2 separate regions of the Homo sapiens genome follow, and region 1 is linked to region 2. The links are contacts of gene promoters, found by promoter capture Hi-C in blood cells and fetal thymus (Javierre and others, 2016). All regions are on one chromosome and are shown on one strand. Each heading gives the region's core, a stretch centred on a gene start or on the middle of the fragment in contact. The rest is flanking DNA. Distances are from core to core; before and after follow the strand shown. Region 1 overlaps IFT74 (intraflagellar transport 74). Region 2 holds the start of TEK (TEK receptor tyrosine kinase).

Evidence for each region. Contacts are between HindIII fragments. The CHiCAGO score rates a contact against its expected background, and 5 or more counts as called.
Region 1: a fragment that was not itself captured here is called in contact with the fragment with the promoter of TEK in region 2 in 1 of 17 cell types (endothelial precursors); the score reaches 6.7 in endothelial precursors.

What each region holds. Positions count from the first base shown.
Region 1 is chr9:27,031,447-27,034,922 of GRCh38, reverse strand. All of the region lies in intron 13 of IFT74 (intraflagellar transport 74), which reads right to left. Among named protein-coding and RNA genes, the nearest start is that of LRRC19, 28 kb to the right of the region's middle. The HindIII fragment of the contact is 6,282 bases long and covers 1-3,476 here.
Region 2 is chr9:27,107,336-27,110,903 of GRCh38, reverse strand. It overlaps TEK (TEK receptor tyrosine kinase), which reads right to left and starts at 1,679. Exons shown (of 23, transcript NM_000459.5): 1 at 1,262-1,679. The coding sequence starts at 1,313. The HindIII fragment of the contact is 9,085 bases long and covers 1-3,568 here.

The DNA.
Region 1 (3,476 bases), core at 443-2,942, 76 kb after region 2:
GCATAAATAGCATGTCCAAGATCAAACAGCACAGCCTGGATTTGAATCCAGGCATTCTAGTAACAGGACATGTGCTTAAAATAAAATGATTCTGGCCAGGCGTGGTGGCTCACGCCTGTAATCCCAACACTTTGGGAGGCCAAGGCAGGCAGATCACCTGAGGTCAGGAGTTTGAGACCAGCCTGACCAACATGGAGAAACCCCATCTCTACTAAAAATACAAAAAATTAGCCAGGTGTGGTGGCGCATGCCTGTAATCCCAGCTACTTGGGAGGCTGAGGTAGGAGAATTGTTTGAACCTGAGAGGTGGAGGTTGCGGTAAGTCAAGATCACACCATTTTACTCCAGCCTGGGCCACAAGAGAAAAACTCCGTCTCAAAATACATAAATAAATAAACAAATAAATAATAAATAAAAGTATTCTGTCTTTAACATTGTTTATTTTACCCTCCATAATTAAAGAAACAATGGTCCTAACCAAGGCTTTAGAACTCTGAGTATGAAAAAGTATACTATAGACAAACCAAAGTATTATATTTTGTTATTTTACTACTTTGAATGACACATATATATTATGCAGAAAGTTACAATGAATTCATTCAGAATTTAAGACAGTAATTCAATATTCCTATAGCACTTTGCATATATTTCTATTATGACATATTTACCACATTGTAGCAACTAGTTATTTATATGTATTATGGTATTTTAATAATCATATATTTGGTTTTACAATCAACTCCACATTTGGGAAAATACTTGAATCTGGAAAGTAATCATTTTTGGTGAGTAATAATGCCCAATAATCCCTCCTGGAGAGACATATGACAGTGACCGTACAACATTTGTTAACTCTATTTGTCAATCCTACTGTGTATATATTAATAGATGCTCAGAAAATTAGCCCCATCTTGTGGATCGCGGTGGTACTACAAATTCAGGCCTAACAGTCAAAACTTCGGAACTGTCAGTGATGTGTACCTTATCTTGACTGACAAAAACTAAAAAACTTATGGCTAGCATTGGTAAGGAACCACCTTCACATACTGCTTTTGGTTGTATAACATAATACAACCTTTTCTGGGAAGAAATTTGCAAACCAGTTGTAAATATAAATAATATTCCATTCAAAATTTCACTTCTAGAAATTTATTCTGTGGAAATAAACAGACAAGTTATAAACATGAATGTACTAGTGCAGCACTGTTCTTGGGAGTAAAAAATTAGAAACAGCCTAAATATCAATGTGGATACAATGAATCCTATGTAACAACAATCATAGGGGTAGCTAATGGTTGTCAGAAGCGCTTAATGTGCACCAGGCACCATTTTTTTTTTTTTTTTTTTTTGAGACAGGGTCTCACTTTGTTATCCAGGCTGAAGTGCAGTGGCATGATTTTGGTTGGAGTGATTTCGGCTTACTGCAGCCTCGACTTCCGAGGTTCAAGTAATCATCCTACCTTAGCAAATAGCTGGGACTACAAGTCAAACACACATCACCATGCCTGGCTAATTTTTGTATTTTTTTGTAGAGACAGGTTTTCGCCCTGTTGCCCAGGCTGGTCTCGAACTTCTGAGCTCAAGCAATCCACCCCCCTCAGCCTCCCAAAGTGCTAGGATTATAGGCATGAGCCACCACACCTGTACCAGGCACCATTCTTAAGTCTGACTTTAGAGCCCTAACATTGACCACTATGCTATACCATTTCTCAGAATGAAGTATACATCCTCATAGGGAAGAATGTATATTATACAGTTAAATGAAAAGACTCAAGCTCAGAAGAACTGTATATTAGTATTACTCCATTTAAAAATATGTTTATCAATGTATTAAAAGTCTAAAAGCCTAAACATTAAACTGTAAACCATGATTACCTCTGAAGACTTGGATGAGGAGAAAGGAGATGACATTTTACTTTATATACTTTTCTGCTTGCATTTTTCATGTTAAATACATGCCAGATTCATATTTAAAATTACAATTTTAAAAAATTAATCTGAATCTTTAAAATAATTTTAAGTAGTTTAAAAGACTTTTTTTTTTCTTTTTTTTCTTGAGATGGAGTCTTGCTCTGTCGCCCAAGGCTGGAGTGCAGTGGCGCGATCTTGGCTTACTGCAACCTCTGCCTCCCGAGTTCAAGCGATTCTCCTACTTCAGCCTCCTGAGTAGCTGGGATTACAGGTACACACCACCATGCCTAGCTAATTTTTGTATTTTTAATAGAGATGGGGTTTCACCATGTTGGTCAGGCTGGTCTCGAACTCCTGACCTCATGATCCGCCTGCCTCAGCCTCCCAAAGTGCTGGGATTACAGGCGTGAGCCACTGCACCCGGCCAGGACACTTTTTTTTTAAGCTGAAAAGGATGACCTCCTATAAGCTGAGGCTAATTGCCCAGTTAATGAAAGCATGAGGATGGTCATTTAAGGCAAAACACACAAAAAAAATCTTTTTAAAAATAAGTAAAATGATCTACCTTCAAGGTGCTTAAAGTTTCAGAAATTCTAGGTAATTAAGGCTTATAATTGTCATTTCCTGGTATGAATGGCACGTTGAACATGCACATCTAATTTTGATCCTCCCGCAAACCCCACTAAAACTATAGCAAAAAGAATTTTTAAAGGTAGAAACCCCCAGCATATAGAAATAGGAGACAACAGCAATAACATTTTGGAAGCTGAAAGGAGATGGAGAACTGGTAACTGACCTAGCAGACTTGAGAAAGTTGAAATCTAAGCCAGCATTGGGTGAAGCTGAGAACTACCCTGATTTCAAAAGGCTCAGTATTTTTGCATAGAAAACTGATCACTTTTTTTGTGATTTGTGTAAGGCTTTGACATGTCTTATAATAGTAATGCTGTTCTTTATAGAATTTATTCAATGTAAGGGAATACACTAGTAAAGAGTAAAACACCAGGCACAGTGGCTCACACCTGTAATCCCCACACTTTAGGAGGCCAAGGCAGAAAGACTGCTAGAGCCAAGCACGTTGAGATCAGCCTGGGCAACAGAGCAAAACCCTGTCCCTACAAAAAAAGTTTTCAACAATTAGCTGGGCATGGTGGTGTGCACCTGTAGTCCTAGCTACTCAGGAGTTTATTTTACATTTTATTTTATTTTATTTTACATTTTATTTTATTTATTTTATTTTATTTTATTTTATTTTATTTTATTTTATTTTATTTTATTTATTATTTTATTTAGCTAAGGCAAGAGGATCACTTGAGCCCAGGAGTTTGAGGCTGCAGTGAGCTATGTTGTCACACCACTGTACTCCAGCCTGGGTGACAGAAAGACCCTATCTCATTAAAAAAAAAAAAAAAAATGAGTAAAGTTAAGGGCCTGATTTCAGCTAAGTGGTCGAAGAAACTATTTACTCTGAAGGACTTCAATATAAGATATAAACTCTCAAGTATTAATCTGTAGTAAGAATAAAAGAATTTCTTTTTTTTTTTTAAGACGGAGTCTCGCTCTGT
Region 2 (3,568 bases), core at 430-2,929:
ATGATAATTATTTGAAGTACATATTATTGGAGAAGTCAACATTATTTAAACAATTTCCACATAAATACTGAAGCCACCTAAAATCTTTTAATTTTTAGCAACTTGTGTTACACATTCTTAAAGAATATTATTAAATTCTCAAAATATTGGTTGTTGAGAGCTATAAAACAAACTGTATTCAACTCAGTTATTTCATTGGATTTGTTTTTTGAATATTTAATAAAATAGTTCAAACACCTAGAAAATATAGCAGATACTTATGTATACTCGAATCAAATTATATTAATATGCCCTATATCCATGAAGTTTAGTGAATTTTCCCAAATTCATCTCCAATATCAATTCGATTTTCGTTATTAAAATTAGAATGTTTTCAAACCGAAGGGGAGAGACTGATGGCAATGATAAATGTATTTGTGATATGTAGTTCAGGTTTGGATACTGCCTTCTACCTATGTCACATAGGCTGAGTGAGCTACAGAGGCACACCACTATCTGGAGTATCTAAGCAATAAACACGCTGAACCCAACACACTGGCCAACCACTCCTTCACTCTACAACAGGCTTCATATACTCTCCTGTGTTAAAGATTTTGGTAACTGCCTAAATTTTTGTTTCATTGGGCCAGTAAACCCTTTATGAATTACTACATGGCAAACATTTTTTAAAATAAAACAAAAATTCTAATAGCCCCAATCTCCCTGACCCTAACTACAAGAAAAAAAAAAAAGCCTACAATTTCATTGCTTTGCTTAAAATAGGATGTAGATATAAAATCTTTTTACAGAAAAGCATCTTTGTTCCCTTTTAACAGTGACAATCTATACACTGCCTTAATTGGGCCCCTGTATTTCTCAGCATGAATTTCATTTTTTACTGAAGATTTTCTTTAAAGCAGGTAAAACCGGTTTGTTCTTTAAAAAAAAAATCAATAAGAAAAACACTCCAGAATGAGGAGCAGGAAAATAATGCATGATAGTAAGGGGATCTCTTCAAATAAGATGATTTAATCGGTCCTCAAAGAGTTTCTAACACAGGGGCCAATCACCCAGAAGACAAACTAGCAAAATCAGTTCATGCCACAGAGCCTTTGCATTTCAATCCTTCCACACATATTGACTGGAGACTCACAGAGAAATGGTGCCTTTGCTACAGCCACCCCTTGTTCATCAGCACTGATGAGATTTGGGGAGAGCACCCAGAAATCACTAACTCTGTTTTTTAAAATACTAAATTAAAAAAAATAAAGCCAAACCTTACCAGAAAGGAGCAAGCTGACTCCACAGAGAACTAAGCTGGCTAAAGAGTCCATGCTTCCCCAAATCTCTCCATCCAGTTTCCACAAATGTGCATGAGGTCCCAAGGATCCTTTCAAAAACCCAGCGGTTTGTGACTTTCCATTAGCATCGTCCTACTACGTCTTGTTTACAAGTTAGAGGCAAGAAGGAACAGCACAGAAGCAGGCTGTAACAGTCTCATTTCTGTCTGAGCACAGGGAGTTTTAAGTTCCTTTTTCCTGTTTCCTTTGTAGATTAGGATGGGAAAGGCTGTATCTTAAAGGCATTTGGTATCAGCAGGGCTGGGGGCACTCAAGCCCTATCCATCTCGCAATTCATCAAAACACTTATCTGTTGCTGTTGCTTCTGCTGCTGCTTTTGCTGCTGCTGTAGGGGCAGAGGAATTTTTGTTGGAAGTGTGGGTCCCGGTCAGCATTTTCAGAAACAATAGGGGTATCCTCTCATAGGCGGGAAACTGAGAATAACAAGCCCTCCACCTATGTATGGTATGCGATGATGACCAATCCTTCTCAGACTTCTAACAGCTCTCCCGGGGCTACTGGGATCTCTGACAGAAGGAGCTTTTGGGTGTGGGAAGCCGTTTTGGCTTTTGTTTTCTCATTTTAACCCACATGGTTTGAATTGGGAGAAGAAGGTTTCCGTGATGAGAAAATACAACCTGAAAAGCAATTAATTTCAGTGAGCACCGGTGAGGTCAATGCTCAATGTAGCCCCAAGAGACCAGAGTCCAAAATTGTTAGCCTGTTTTCTTTCACACAGATGGCCTGTTGGTTGGCCATTAGCCCAAAGATACCCATGTTGCCGGCTATAGCTTTAATTTTCATTAACAATTCATCTAAAGGTGATCAAATTTCTTGAAGAAGTTGGCATAGAAGGATTTTGGTAATGAGAAAGATTTGGTAGTCATTGAGCAATGGTGTTTCAGAAGCAAATTATATATAACATTTAAAAACTAATCTGTGTAAAAACACAAACATACAGGATTAGATTGGGATAAAAATGGTGCTCATGAGAGCAAAGAGAGTTCATGGACCAAAATGAAAATAGCCATGGAATGTACAATATCTAGAATGAGGTCAGAGACCCTACACTTATCCAGATAATTACTCCACAATATGAATTATGACATTAGATTAGAGAGTATACACTTTGCTCATCATCGACCTTCATGCCTGAGGAAATCATTATACTCCTCCTTTTCCTACCCACCAGAGGAAAAGGCAGATGCAGCTAGTCTTGACTAATTTCTGTCCCAGGTTTTATCACATCGATGATGATCTTAAGAACCAATTAATGTTTCCAGTTTGCAGGTGTGAAAAAGCCCAGGTTCTGTCTGCAAACAGAACTGGGTTCAAATACTGGCTCAGCCACATGTGTAGCTGAGAAAAGTTACTTAGTCTTTTTGAGCCTCAGTTTCAACAGCTGTGAAATGGCAAAAATATCTCCTTCCCAGGTGTTTTGAGAGGAATAAATGAGGTTTAAAAATATAAAACCATTTGGTACTATGCCTAGTTCTTTGAAGGTTCTCATTAAATGTTAATAAGTTTATTTTCTTTCATCTTTCCATTCAGTCTCAATTTAAATTCCAAGAGCTTCTACTAAAAAGCTATTTTCTATTCCTATGAGATGACTTTAAATTTGTCATCACGAAAAAAAAAAACAAAAACAGTGGGCCTGGCACAGTGGCTCACGCCTATAATCCCAGCACTTTGGGAGTGGATCACCTGAGGTCAGGAGTTTGAGACCAGCCTGGCCAACATGGCAAAACCCCATCTCTACTAAAAATACAAAATTTAGCTGTGCTTGCTGGCGTGCACCTGTAACCCCAGCTACTCTGGAGGCTGAGGCAGGAGAATTGTTTGAACCTGGGAGGCAGAGGTTGCAGTGAGCCGAGATCGTGCCACTGCACTCCAGCCTGGGTGACAGAGCAAGACTCTGTCTAAAAAAAAAAAAAAAAAAAAGAAAAAAAAGAAAGAAAAATGAAGTTCCACACAGGCTAAGTTACTTGCTCTGCTGTGAGTAGCAGAGGTAATAATATCTGAATCCTGAGCTCTGGACCTCCAATTTTTCCCTTGTTTCATAGTTGAAAAGTAGATCAAGAGTAATGTAGGACATCACAAACACCAGCAGGGTACACCTAGACCTTACAGAAGTATTTGAAATGAAACTTTGACAGATAAGAATAGTTTGGTGACACTGAGAAGTGCGGTCAGTTCTTAGTGTGCTTCTGAAATAACTAATGTCAGGATCGGTGGGTGCTGTATTAATT